Linked DNA regions of Homo sapiens: all the other regions are linked to region 1. The links are contacts of gene promoters, found by promoter capture Hi-C in human tissues and cell types (Jung and others, 2019). All regions are on one chromosome and are shown on one strand. Each heading gives the region's core, a stretch centred on a gene start or on the middle of the fragment in contact. The rest is flanking DNA. Distances are from core to core; before and after follow the strand shown.

Region 1 (4,773 bases), core at 899-3,398:
ACCACCTCCGAGCCACTCTGGGGTGCATGGAGCCAGGAGCCCAGGTGGGTAGTGACTGCCCGGGCCAGGGCTTTTCCCTCAGAGCTCAGCTTGTGGGGAAGGAGGAACTGCTGGGGTTCACCCCATAGGCGGTGGAGGGAGTCACACAGACAGGCAACTGGTGACCTGGGAACTGGGGAGAGCCAGGCCACGCCCCACTGGGGCAGGGAGGTGCCTCCCCACCAGGAGCCCAGGCCCCGGGTAAAGCTGCCTGCCCACCGTGTCCTCCATCACTGGAGCTGACCTTAAGCCCCCCCACTCCTGAGGACACGAGGCTCCACTGGTCAGGCACGTGGTGGTGCTATCCCCGCCCGATCCCCAGCTCCCTGCCCTACCCTGGGCTCCTCCCCAATTTCCTTTAAAGTCCAGAAAATGCAGCCGGGCACGGTGGCTCACGCCTGTAATCCCAGCACTTTGGGAGGCCGAGGTGGACAGATCACAAGGTCAGGAGATCAAGACCATCCTGGCTAACACAGTGAAACCCCGTCTCTTCTAAAAAATACAAAAAATTAGCCGGGCGTGGTGGCGGGCGCCTGTAGTCCCAGCTACTCGGGAGGCTGAGGCAGGAGAATGGCGTGAACCCGTGAGGCGGCGCTTGCAGTGAGCCGAGATCACGCCACTGCGCTCCAGCCTGGGTGACAGAGCGAGACTCTGTCTCAAAAAATAAATAAATAAATGAAGTCCAGAAAATGGGGTGGAGAAAAAGAAGGGGAGATATGGACCCCCCACAGCCTCCTGCCCACATGCCCCTCATGGCACCAGGCCAGGCTGTGGGCCTCCTGCCCCTGCTGGGCACTGCCCATCGCCTGGCCCACACCTCTCCAGTCTCAGACTCCGCAGCTGCCCAGGGCTTGGCTGAGACATTCTCCAGCTATGCTGAGAAAGGCCAGGAACCCTTGCCTCTGACCCTGAAGCCACCACCCCTCAGTGGGGGTCGCCTGGGCATGGCCCGAGGCCCACCCACCTACACCCTGAGTGGCCACACATGTCCCACATGGACCCCCAGCCCAGAACAGACATGTGAACGCACAGACACGATACCACTCCCCGTGAGACCCCCACGGCCTCCTCCCTGAAGCAGGGGGGTCCCAGCACCCCTCAGGAGGTCGCCACCTGTGCCCTCCCTACCTTGCCGCACAGAGACGTAGCGGTGGTTGGCAGCCACCAGCACCACCTGTGGGTGACTCTCCTCCAGATCAAAGAGCTCATCCTTGCCAGGTCGCGTGTTTCGGCCGGCCTTGAGGGTGCCTGCGGGCCCCACGGGTGCCAGGTAGTGGCCGTCGCAGTCCTTGAAGGCCAGCTTGCCCGCCTTGAACTCCAGCGTGTAGCAGGCACGGGGCTCAGGCTCCCAGACCAGACGGCCGTCGCTGCGCAGGTAGCGGCTGTCACAGGACTTGAGGCAGTACCGTCGGCTCCGGAAGATGAGGGTGAGGAGGGCGTCCACGCCCCAGGGCTTGTCTCCGTCTGCGGCCATCTCGTCCTCCCGCGGGCACAGGTGCACGTAGCGCCGCCGGCTCACGCTCAGCAGGTGGGCCTGCGGGTGGATGGCCAGGTGCACGGTCCACAGCTCGGCCGGGGAAACGGCTGTGGCGAAGCAGGACAGCTGGTCCTCGGTGCCTCCGAAGAAGCGGCCGTGCGGCTCGGACCGCAGCACCCAGCGCCCATCTGGCTGCGGCAGGACCAGGAAGCGGCAGTCACGGCCCGGCTGCTCTGCCTCACAGGCCACGCGCCCGTCCTCTTCTGCCGACAGGTAGCGGCCCAGGTGGCTGCTGCGGAGCAGCACAGCCGTGCCTTGTCCTGGGTCGGGTTCCAGCACCCAGGTCTGCTTCCTCTTGAGGCTGGGTGCCGAGGCATTGACCTTGAAGCCGAAGCTCTCAGCTGTCAGGTAGCGGTCAGTGTCGTTGACGAGGCCAAACTGGATCTTCAGCACCTGGTGCAGGCCGTTCGTCGGCATCTTCAGGCTGGCCGGGTCCCCGGAGGGGCCTGGGATGCGCCCTCTGAGTGCTCACGGCCCCCGCGGTCCCCCAGAAGCCCGGGTCGGCTCGGCTGGCCCACAGCCCCCAGACCCAGCCGGCGTCACGAACCCCCTGCCTGCTCTGACCCGCCTCTGACCCGCGGCAGCAGCCTGGGCAGCTCTTAGAGGGCCCGCGGGCAGCAGAGGGCGGGCGGGGAGGGCGGATCAGAGACGTGCGGCTTAGGAGCAGCACCTTTCATTACCCTCAGCTTGGATTTCAGCCACTCCCGGATTGCACAGAGCCCAGAGCCCGAGGGCCTGAGGGCCTACGGGGCTGGAGGGCAGGGTTGATCCCCTTTTCCTCATAGCGTGGGCCCAGCGCCCCTCTTCACGGCCCTGCACCTTTTGGCCTCTCTCGTTCCTGCCCCCCTCCTCCAACCCCGTGTGGGCTCCCGGCCCGGCCCGGCCCAGCCCTTCCGGATGTAGAAGCCGTCCAGTGGAACGCTCACGGCTCGGCCGCAACCTGATCGCCGCCCGTACCCTCGGTGGCCGCCAGGCCCTCAGCTGGATCCAGTTACTGCTTCTCTGATTCCTGCTGCCAGAAGCATAGCAAGGACCCCAGCCACAACCTGCAGCCCAGGTCGCCTCCACCCCAGACCGGCCTCTGGCCACACTGCTCAGGCCCCAGAATGACGCACTGGACTGCCACCCACGCTGGAGGGTGGAACACAGTGGCCGTGCAGCCCTGCAGGCAGGGGGCAGAGTCAGAGGCCCTGGGCCAGGCTGGCCCGGCCCCAGCGCACTCCTGTGCGCTCTGAGCAAGTTGCTGGGCCCTGAGGCTGCCCCCTCCTCTGCTGTGAGCTGGAGTGAAGCCAGCCTCACTTCACTTTGGAGTCTTTACGGATGTGGATCCAGGAGGCTGGTGGGACGATGTCCACCCCATGCTCCCAGCGGTGGCCCTTGGAATCTGGGAGAGGATGAAGGCCAGCAGGCCGGGAGAGACTGGAAGTGGTCACACCTGTCTACAGCACCTCCTTGCTCTGGGCCACCTGGCTGTACCCCTTCCCCAGAGCCTGAGGGGCACTGGGCCCTGCTCACCGTGCCTGGCTCCTGCACCTGCCTCAGGGGCTTGGGGCCAAGTAGTGAAACCAGAGCTGGCCACCCTGGGCCAGGGCCAGCCCGGTGTCCTCTTCCTCATAACAGCGTGTGACCCTCCCGTCTCCCTGGGGACTGGGAACAGGGGCCACAGGCCCCTTCCGGTCATGGCCTGGAGTCACTCCCCTGTCCTCCTGGGCCCATCTCCTGAGTGGCCATCATGGGGGTCCCCGTAGGGCAGGAGTCTAGCCAAAAGCAAGGGGCCTGGGCTGGGCACCTGTGGGCTCCAGAGGTGGGCAGGGCCATGGTGGCAGAGTGTGCACAGACTCAGGGGCTCTTCCTCTGTCCTCTAAGCCCTGGACAGCAACCGTGCCAGGCACCTGCAGACACAGGGGAGGAAAAAGAGGAGACCTGTCCCCACTGTCCCCACGCTCAGGGGCCAGGGTGGGGGCAGAGAGACTCCCACATGCAAATACCCCCCAGGGCACAGCGTACGCCACGACGCCAGGGCCTGCTCTCGCCTCTCCCTGTGTGCTGGCCTCATCCGCCTCTATGATTCACACGCATTTATGAGGCACCAACTGTGTGCGAAACCAGGTCACGTGCCAGGCACCATCCTGGGGAGACGCAGTCTGGGGTTTCACCCCCTTCCCAGAGACGATGCCCACACACACTCTCCCACAGTTTCCAGGGGACTGAGGACACAGGCCTAGCACCGATGCCAGGGAACTGTCTCTGGTTTAGGGATACAAGCTAGGGTGCTGCCTGCACCTCACTTTCCCATTGGCTCTTCTTTTTAAAAAACTTTTTTCTTGAAATAGGGTCTCGCTCCTCACCCAAACTGGAGTCCAGTGGCGCAATCTTGGCTCACTGGAACCTTCGAGCTCAAGCAGTCCTCCTGCCTCAGCCTCCCAAGTAGCTGGGATTACAGGCACTTGCTACCGTGCCCGGCTAATGTTTGTATTTTTAGTAGAGATGGGGTTTCACCATGTTGCCCAGGCTGGTCTCGAACTCCTGACCTCAAGTGATCTGCCCGCCGCGGCCTCTGAAAGTGCTGGGATGATAGGCGTGGCCACTGCGCCCGGCCTCCCGTTGGATTTTGAGGGTACAGCTCGGTTGGTCCGTGAGCGGTGGGGGAAGCCGGAGGGGCAGCTGTGCCCATGGTCCCCCCCACCCCAGGCACAGACACTGGCTTCACCTCCACACCCCAACGCCCAGCCAGGCTGAGGAGGAGCCCAGGCGGCCTGCCCCTCTGATTGGCACGACGGCCTCATTAGCGCTGTCTGGGCTGGCAGGGCGCTTAGGCATCGGGTGCTCAGCAGGGGGAAGCCTGGCCGCCCGGCACTAAGTGGGCCTGGCTCTGGGCAGCCTCTTGGTGGCAGAGCCAGAAATGATGGCGGCTCCTCAGTTCTAGGGCCCCACAGCTCCACGTTGGGTGGGGCTGCCTGGCACTGACCCAGCTGTGTGAGCTAAACAGGGGAGGGTGACTGAAGGGTGGGCGCCTGGGCCAGGCTTCCTTGGAGGGAGGCCGTTTACAGGGATTCCAGCCCCTCCTGCCTCCACCTCAGGACCCCAGGCTGTTGCCCAGCCACCTGCTAGGATCGCTTCCTCTGGATTCTCAGCAAAATTTCTGGCACACAGCAGGTACTTAATAAGTGCCTGAGATTGTTGGATGTCGGGAGTCT
Region 2 (4,773 bases), core at 642-3,141, 58 kb before region 1:
CACCTGAGTCTGGGGAGGTCAAGGCTGCAGTTAGCCATGATTGTGCCACTGCACTACAGGCCTGGGTGACAGAGCGAGACCCTGTCTCAAGGATAGGGGTGGAGATGAGAAGACCGTGGGAGATGTTTCGGGACCTTTTTTAGAATCCTGCCAATTGCAGCTACTCAATGTTTTCTCTTTTTGGTGTTTCCCGCTCCTTTGGGGGCTCCAGTTACACATGTATTTGGCTGCCTGAAGTTGTCCCGCAGTTTACTGATACTCTGTTCATTTCATTTCAGTCTTCTTCAGTGTTTCATTTTGGATAATTTCTTTTAGTCTTCACATTCGTTGATCTGGACTTCTACAGTGTCTCATCTGCAGTTAATCTCATCCAGCATATTGTTCATCTCAGACATTGTAGTTTTCATTCCAGAAGTTTAAGTTGTTAATTGCTTCCTGTGTTTCTACTTAACTCTTTGAACATAGGGGATACAGTTATATTAACTTTTTTCGGCCGGGCGCGGCGGCTCATGCCTGTAATCCCAGCACTTTGGGAGGCCGAGATGGGCGGATCACAAGGTCAGGAGATTGAGACCATCTTGGCTAACACGGTGAAACCCCGTCTCTACTAAAAAAAAAAAATACAAAAAATAAGCCGGGCGTGGTAGCAGGCACCTGTAGTCCCAGCTACTCGGGAGGCTGAGGCAGGAGAATGGCGTGAACCTGGGAGGCGGAGCTTGCATTAAGATCGTGCCACTGCACTCCAGCCTGGGGAACAGAGCTAGACTCTGTCTCAAAAAAAAAAAAAAAAACAACTTTTTTCTTTGTTTCTTTTTTCCTTTTTTTTTTTTTTTTTAAAGAGACAGGGTGTCAGCTGGGCGCAGTGGCTCACGCCTGTAATCCCAGCCCTTTCGGAGGCTGAGGCGGGCGGATCACAAGGTCAGGAGATCGAGACCATCCTGGCTAACACGGTGAAACCCCGTCTCTACTAAAACTACAAAAAGTTAGCCGGGCATGGTGGCAGGCGCCTGTAGTTCCAGCTACTCGGGAGGCTGAGGCAGGAGAATGGTGTAAACCTGGGAGGCAGAGCTTGCAATGAGCCAAGATTGTGCCACTGCACTCCAGCCTGGGTGACAGAGCAAGACTCCGTCTCAAAAAAATAAAAAATAAAAAAATAAAGAGACAGGGTGTCACTATGTTGGCCAGGTTGATCTTGAACTCCTGGCCTCGAGCAGTCCTCCCGCCTCAGCCTCCAAAAGTGTTGGGGTTATAGGCGTGAGCCACTGCACCCGACCCATATTAACTTTTAATGTTCTTATATACTAACTCATATCACCTGCTTATTTCTGCATCAGTTTTAATTGATTGATTTTTTTTCTAATTATGGGTTAGCATATGTGGGTCTGCAGCTGCAATGTGTTTTCCGTGGACCGTCTGTCTGTCTGTCCTTGTTACTGGCGTGCTGAGTGTGTGTGGTGTGCTGCTCATTGTGTATCACAAGCCAGAGACTCCAGCAGGGTGTTTTCTTCCAGAGAGGGCTTTCCTTTCCTCCATGGGAAATGTGGTGGTGGTGAGCTGTCCATCTCCATCCAGGTGGCAAGTAGCTGGTCAGAGCCGAGTTGCATTTTGATGAGACTTCGTCTATTGTTGATCCTTCCCTTTTTCTACAGTGTAACCCCTTAGGGGTGCCATCTGAGAGCCTGGTAGAGCTCTTTGTGAGGTGACAGTCTTCCTTAAATCTTTGTCTCATTGGCCCTGAAAGGCTGGGAGATACAGTCTGTCCAGAAGTTTCTTGTTTTCCTCATGCCTCATACAGCTTAAATATGTAGGTATCCCATGTACCTTAAAACTTTTGCAAGCATCTTTTTTTTTTTTTTTTGAGACAGTTTTGCTCTGTTACCCAGGCTGGAGTACAGTGGCGCGATCTCGGCCCACTGCAGCCTCCGCCCCTTGAGTTCAAGCGATTCTTGTGCCTCAGCCTCCCGAGTAGTTGGGACTACAGATGTGTGCCACCTGCCCGGCTAATTTTTTGTGTTTTTAGTAGAGACTGTGTTTTACCATGTTGGCCAGGCCGGTCTTGAACTCCTGGACTCAAGTGATTTGCCCACCTTGGCTACCCAAAGTGTTGGGATTATAGGCGTGAGGCCACCCAAAGTGCTGGGATTACACCACACCCAGCTGCAAACATCTTGAGGGGAGAGAATGGCTGCATGTTTGAAATTCCTGTGTCTCCAGAGTCTCTGCCAGACCCTCATCTCCCAGCACTCACTTCCTGCAGGAGGGGAGGGAAGGGGCTTTCCATCTCAGTGCCACAGTCCCCTTTGCTGGGGGTCTTCTTATCTGGTTTGGATTCAGGCCCCTGCCTCCCCTTCCTCCCTCCTACCCCGTTGGGCAGGCTGGTCTCGAACTCCTGATCTCAAGTGACCTACCCACCTCAGCCTCACAGAGTGCTGGGATTACATGCATGAGACACTGTGCCTGACCTATATTTTTCTTTTGAAACAGCATCTCGCTCTGTCACCCAGACTGGAGTGCAGTGGCGTGATCTCAGCTTGTTGCAACTTCTGCCTCCTGGGCTCAAGTGATCCTCCTGCCTCAGCCTCCCGCGTAGCTGGGACTATAGGCGCACACTACCATGCCCACCTAACTCTTTTGTATTTTTAGTAGAATCAGGATTTCACCATGTTGCCCAGGCTGGTCTTGAACTCCTAGGCTCAAGCAATCTGCCTGCCTCAGCCTCCCACAGTGCTGGGATTATAGATGCTGGGATTACAGATGTGAGCCACTGCACCCAGCCTCTGATTTCTTTCTTTCCCCCCCCCCCCAGAAATGGAGTCTTCCTCTGTCTCCCAGGCTGGAGTGCAGTGGCCTGATCTCGGCTCACTGCAACCTCTGCCACCTGAGTTCTGCGATTCTCCTGCCTCAGCCTCCCGAGTAGCTGGGATTACAGGTGTGCACCACCACGCCTGGCTAACTTTTAAATTTTTAGTAGAGATTGGATTTCACCATGTTGGCCAGGATGGTCTCAAACTCCTGACCTCGTGATCTGCCCACTTTGGCCTCCCTAAGTGCTGGGATTACAGGCGTGAACCACCACACCCGGCCTTGATTTCTTAACGATGTGGATAATCAGCTATATGAGCACAGTTTTGGGAATAAAAGCAAACTTTTGTTTCCCTTTTAATCTTTGATGCTTCTCTGTCGTCGGTCATCTCCAGGAATCATGGATGTTACTGGACTCTGTTCTATTCCATTGGCCAGTTTTCCTAAACCAGAACTAATACCATACTCTTTTTTTTTTTTTTTTTTTTTTTTTGGCGACAGAGTCTCGTTCTGTCGCCCAGGCTGGAGTGTAGTGGTGCGATCTCAGATCACTGCAACCTCCGCCTCCCGGGTTCAAGCAATTCTTCTGCCTCAGCCTCCCGAGTAGCCAGGACTACAGGCGCACGCTGCCACGCCTGGCTGATTTTTTGTATTTTAGTAGAGACAGGGTTTCACCATGTTGCCCAGGCTGGTCATGAACTCCTGAGCTCAGCAGGCAATCTGCCCACCTCGGCCTCCCAAAGTGCTAGGATTATAGGCGTGAGCCACCGTGCTGGGCCTCGTTCCCATGTTCTTTAATGTCTCTTAGAAAGGTTTTCAGTTTTCTCTGTGGAGGTCTTACCTATCATTTGTTAGGTTATTCCTAGGTACTTTAATTTTTTTTAAGCCTGTTACAAAATAGCACTATCTTAAAATTACATTTTTAAACTGTTGGTGTTTGAAACAGGTAAATTTTTGTATCCAGCAACTGCTATCTGTTCCTCAGTATTATTATTTATAAGTTTAGTCTTTCGCATTTCCTACACGTATTATCCTTTCCATCATCAGCCCTTCTCATTCTCTGGGCTTTTCCCAGTGTTGCCTGGGATCTCCCAAACAGCACTCATGACAGTGGAAGTCTCTGGCACCTTTGTCTTGCTTTTAATTGTAAAGCAAGTGCTTTTAGGATTTTATCATTAACTGTGAGTTTGCTGTAGGATTATTTTTAAATACCCTTTTCAGATTGGAAATTGGCTTTTTTATTTCCATGCGTTATTGTAAGTTTCTTGCACTTAGGAATGGAGCTCCCTTTTGTCATGAAATATGTGACATTTCCTTAATCATTCTGTTGTTTTCATAGAGTGCTTATTTGCCCTCTGTTAGCGAGAATAGGCTAGAAATACTTCCCAGAATTGTTTATAGCCCTGTAGGATTTGAGACAGATTTCTCATGTTTCAGGAAAATATCAGTTGGAGCAAAGAGAACTGTAAAAGCAAACATTGAAGTCATCCTTTTAGTCCTCCCATGGACTTTGCGGTTGGAGGTGACATGCCTTGTAAACAAAACCTGCACCAATATTTGTCTGAGGCTGCTGTTTATCATGTTGTTGTCTCTGGCAATAAAAATGGGAAACAATTGAAAAGCCCTGTCCCAAGGGCATATTAAGTTACAGCTGGACTCTGGGATAGCATGTGGTTACTAAAGGTATGTGTTTGCAAATTATTTAAAGATAAGGGGTAAAACTTAGAAAGCAAAATTAAAAATGCATCTATACCTAGAGTATAATACCAATTTTTTTTGTTATTTTCTTGAAGACACGTATAGGCATTTGCACATGGATGTGGACATACATTTACATGCACTCACACATGGGGTGGGAGTAGAAGCTTCCTGACTGTCCTTCAGGAGGGAGGAGAGTCTACAGCTTTGCCCTGTCCCATATGCAGCCAGTAAGAGAACGAGGAAGAGCCTTGTGGACAGATGAGGGGAGCT
Region 3 (4,773 bases), core at 923-3,422, 37 kb before region 1:
GTGGTTGCAGAGGCAGAGGGAGAGGTGTCTCAGCATTCAGTGTATTGAGTTGCGTCTTAGTAGGAAACAGCTCTGTTTCGGGGTCTGGCACTGGGGAACTGTATGGAACATTCATGTTTATTCCCATTCCTCTAGGACTTCCATAGCTTGGCCACCTATTTGTCTCAGAATACCTCATCTGTGTTCTTGGATACCATCTCAGATTTCCACCTCTTGCTGTTCCTGGTCACCAATGAAGTTATGCCTCTGCAGGTGCGTGTCCAAGTGTGGTGTCCACTTGAGCAAGTGGGCTTTGGCTGCAAAGAGACGCCTGTGTCTTGCTTTCTTTCCTCCCAGACCAGAGCATGATTGGGAAACTGGGTCAAAGCTCGGGGTCACAGGTTGTCCCCCTCATTTGTCCTATGGGCAGAGTGTAGGCAGCAGCTTTTCACAAGAAGCTTGTTGATAGAAAGATTAATTTTTTCACCTTTAGCATTTCCATTGAGTGTCTGCACCTCTGTGAGGAAGTACGGTTTCATCTGTTACAATCGAATGGGAAGCAGAGGTGATTTAGCTCTGCCTCCAGCATTAGAGTTAGACAGTTTAAAAAATTCCTGTTCTAACAGTTTCAGAGTCACAGCCTCTGCTTTTTACTCATATCTCCCCTCCTCCTAAATCAACTCTGGTTTTATTGCCTTGGCCCAGAAGGCTTGGCCAGCTTCCAGACCCCAAGCTCACAGCTGCACAGTTGGCATTTTTAAGAGACACCGTTGGGGGAGAAGAGGGCGAGTGCTTTGCAGAAGTGGCTGCTCTGGGTAGTGGGGGCCAGTGGGCAGCAGCCCCCAGGAGGTTCTTGCCGTGTGTAGGGGTCCGACTTTGGCTTTTTCTTCACTGTTCAAGCCAACAGGAAATGCCAAAGAGAAAGGAGCAAATTCTTTCTGAGCTGCTCCGCCACTGACTCAGAACTTTTCCCTGAAGGAGACAGAATAGAGAGGCTCCTCCTCCCCCGGCCTTTCTCTGTCAGGAAGCCTATAGCTGTTCTTGTATCCTGCTAGTTTATTTTGTGTCTGTATTTTGTCTCAAAACCACTCACTCGGGTATTTGACATCAGGCACCCTGTGCCTCTTCCCTGCCTGTGCCTTCCCTAGTCAGCCCAGGGAACTGCACCTCCTGCTCCGAGGTTCAGCTGCTGCCCATCTGTCTGGACAGGTGGTGAAAGGTGAGGCTCCCTCTACACCAGAGCCACCTTGCTAGTATACTGCACTATTTTTGCAGTCATCTGTTGGAAGACATTCTCTGGAGGTACTGAGAGCTCCTGAAGGCTTTATCCGTTTCTCATATATGAATTATTTTTTTTTAAGACGGAGTCTCGCTCTGTTGCCCAGACCGGAGTGCATTGGCGCAATCTTGGCTTACTGCAACCTCCGCCTTCTGGGTTCAAGCGATTCTCCCGCCTCAGCCTCCCGAGTAGCTGGGATTACAGGTGCCCGCAACCACGCCTGTCTAATTGTTGTATTTTTAGTAGAGACGGGGTTTCGCCACGTTTGCCAGGCTGGTCTCAAACTCCTGACCTCGTGATCTGTCTGCCTCTGCCTCTGAAAGTGTTGGGATTACAGGCGTGAGCCACTGCGCCCATCCTTAATGCATTAATCCCCTGCAGTTTGACTCGGAAGGCTAGGATAGAGAGTGCATTTTTCCAGACACGAGAGGAGAAAGAGGCAGAGGGATGAAATGTGAGGGAGGAGGACACGTCTCACAGTCAAGACTTCCGCCCTCCATCCCAGCCTCCAGGACGAGAGGCATGAGCTCCTATCCTCCGGGCTGTTGAGCACCGTCAGCACAAGGCAGAGGCACAGATGCCCGCTTGGGCCTATTTGGGAAGAATTTAAATTCTAGTTCAATTTAGCACTTGCGTTTATAGATGTAAGTTGTGGCAGTTTGCATTTTATAGTGATAGCCTGTAAGATTTTTAAAATGTCCTCAGAAATACGTCTTGATGTTGGGGAGAAAGAAACCTGTTCTAGCAGGAAGCTGCTCACCTTAGGCACAGCGAAGAGGAACCTTCCTTTTGGCTTCTTGTAGGACAGCATCAGCTTGCTGCTGGAGGCCGTGCGGACCAGAAATGAGGAGCTCGCCCAGACATGGAAGAGGTCTGAGCAGTGGGCCACCATCGAGCAGCTGTGCAGTGAGTACCCCCACCCCCTGCCCCGGCACCCCGTGGCTGGGGCCGGAGAGCAGCCCACTCTGCACAGCTCCCCACTGCCGGTGGTGCCCTGGATTCCGCACCCAGCTGCATCCTGGCAGGTGCCATCGGCAATGCAACGAGTAGAGACTCGGCCTCCCTGCCAGGCACGTGGCAGGCTCCGGTGATGGAGCAGACATGTTGTCCAGGCCGTACGTCTTAGGTACACAGCCCTGTAAATTTTATAAACCTGTACATCAGAGATACTAATCTCCAGGCATCCTAGGAGCACTTTGAACATCATTGTCTTAAGAGAATCAGAAACTTTATGGAAGCGCCGGAAGCGTGGGACCTTTTGGTCTCCTTGAGAATTTCCCTTTAGTGCTTAAAGCTGTAAGGAGGAGAAGCCTGCAGCATCCATGTTGTTGCTGGTGGACACTACGGAACGGACCGCAGGCATTGCGTGTCTTCCGGACCCTCAGTCACCAGGTCCTGAACGATTCCCCACTCGTGAGAACCTTCTGTCAGCATTGCTGCAGGGACTCCTCACGCACCGTGGTGCCTCGTGCAGCCCGAGTGCCCTGAGTCCCTGCAGCTGAGAGCACCAGAGTGCCCGGGAGCTACGGCCCTGGACAAATGCTAGAATCCTTCTGTTAACACAGCCTTCAAAAGACACATCAAACACCTTTATACCATTTCCTGTTTTTTTTTTTTTTTTTGAGACGGAGTTTGGCTCTTGTCACCCAGGCTGGAGTGTGGTGGCGTGATCTTGCCTCACTGCAACCTCCACCTCCTGGGTTCAAACGATTCTCCTGCCTCAGCCTCCTGAGTAGCTGGGACTACAGGCATGTGCCACCATGCCTGGATAATTTTTGTATTCTTAGTAGAGCCAGGGTTTCACCATGTTAGCCAGGCTGGTCTCGAACTCCTGACCTTGTGATCTGCTTGCCTCTGCCTCCCAGAGTGTTGGGATTACAGGTGTGAGCCACCACGCCCAGCCGAGGTTTTCTTTTCACACAATTCTTTGTTTATTATTTTTATTTTTGTAGAGACAGGGTCTCACTCTATTGCCGAGGCTGGAGTGCAGTTGCACAATCGTAACTCACTGCAGCCTCAAACTCCAGGCTCAAGTGATCTTTCTGCTTCAGCCTGCTGAGTAACTGGGACCACAGGCTTGCAACACCACACCCAGCTAATTCTTGGGGCTTTGTTGTTGCTTTTTATTTGTTTGTTTTTTAAAAATAATTTTAACTTATTTTAGATTCACAGGGTACATGTGCAGGTTTGTCACCTGGGTATATTGCCTGATGCTGAGGTTGGGGTATGATTGATCACATCACCCAGGTACTACACATAGTACCTAATAGTTTTTCAGCCCGCCCTGCTCTTTGTGTGTGTGTGTGTGTGTGTGTGTGTGTGTGTGTTTTGAGCTGGAGCCTCACCCTGTCTCCCAGGCTGGAGTGCAGTGGCGCAATCTTAGCTCACTGCAAACTCTGCCTCCTGGGTTGAAGCAATTCCCCTCCCTCAGCCTCCCGAGTAGCTGGGATTACAGATGTGTACCACCACACCTGGCGTTGCCATCTTTATGTACGTGAGTACCCATGTTTAGCTCCCACTTATAAATGAAAACATGTAGTATTTGGTTTGCTGTTCCTGCATTAGTTTGCTTAGAATAATGGCCTTCAACTGCATCCATGTTGCTGCAAAGGACATGATTTCATTCCTTTTTATGGCTGCAAAATTTTTTAATATTTTTGTATCAATGAGGTCTCACTGTGTTGCCCAGACTGGTCTCAAACTTTGGCCTCAAGCATTCCTTGCACCTCAGCCTCACAAAGTCCTGAGATTATACCTGGGAGCCACTGCACCCAGCCCTTTGATGCAGTTCTAACAATGACACCAGTCTTTTTTTTTTTTTTCTTTTTTGTTTCCCTTTTAGAGACAGGGTTTCACTCTGTTGCCTAGGCTGGAGTGCAGTGGAGTGATCATAGCTCACTACAGCCTTCAATTCCTGAGCTCAAGCGATCCTCCTGCATCAGCTTTCGGAGTACCTAGGAGTATAAACATGAGCCACTACACCCAACTAATGTTTTTGGTTGGTGTTTTTTTTTTTTCTTTAAGAGATAGGGTTGGCCGGGCCCGGTGGCTGGCTCACACCTGTAATCCCAGCACTTTGGGAGGCTGAGGCAGGTGGATCACAACGTCAAGGGATTGAGACCATCCTGGCCAACATGGTGAAACCCCATTTCTGTTAAAACTACAAAAATTAGCTGGGCATGGTGGCGAGCGCCTGTAATCCCAGCTACTCAGGAGGCTGAGGCAGGAGAATCACTTGACCCAGGAAGCGTAGGTTGTAGTGAGCTGAGATCGTGCCACTGTACTCCAGCCTGGGCGACAGAGCAAGACTCTGTCTCAAAAAAAAAAAAAAGATGTGGTCTTGCCATGTTGCCCAGGCTGGTCTCAAACTCCTAGGCTCAAGTGATCTTCCTGCCTTGGTTCCCAAAGTGCTGAGATTACAGCTGTGAGCCACTGCACCTGACCTTTTTTTTTTCCCCCCTCCTTTTTTTTTTGAGACAGGTTCTCACTCTGTCACCCAGGCTGAAGTGCAGTGG

Evidence for each region. Contacts are between HindIII fragments. The study calls those that stand out against the background at their distance.
Region 2: a fragment that was not itself captured here is called in contact with the fragment with the promoter of FSCN2 in region 1 in 1 of the 25 tissues and cell types used here (lymphoblastoid cells).
Region 3: a fragment that was not itself captured here is called in contact with the fragment with the promoter of FSCN2 in region 1 in 2 of the 25 tissues and cell types used here (dorsolateral prefrontal cortex and lymphoblastoid cells).

The regions. Positions count from the first base shown.
Region 1 is chr17:81,525,752-81,530,524 of GRCh38, reverse strand. It overlaps FSCN2 (fascin actin-bundling protein 2, retinal), which reads right to left and starts at 2,148. Exons shown (of 5, transcript NM_012418.4): 1 at 1,168-2,148. The coding sequence starts at 1,993. RefSeq lists enhancers at 1,174-1,699, 1,700-2,226. The HindIII fragment of the contact is 15,570 bases long and covers 1-4,773 here.
Region 2 is chr17:81,583,693-81,588,465 of GRCh38, reverse strand. The region is part of intron 12 of NPLOC4 (NPL4 homolog, ubiquitin recognition factor); the gene reads left to right. Among named protein-coding and RNA genes, the nearest start is that of FAAP100, 34 kb to the right of the region's middle. The HindIII fragment of the contact is 8,680 bases long and covers 1-4,773 here.
Region 3 is chr17:81,562,896-81,567,668 of GRCh38, reverse strand. NPLOC4 (NPL4 homolog, ubiquitin recognition factor) reads left to right here. Exons shown (of 17, transcript NM_017921.4): 15 at 136-252; 16 at 2,062-2,164. Among named protein-coding and RNA genes, the nearest start is that of FAAP100, 13 kb to the right of the region's middle. The HindIII fragment of the contact is 4,654 bases long and covers 1-4,499 here.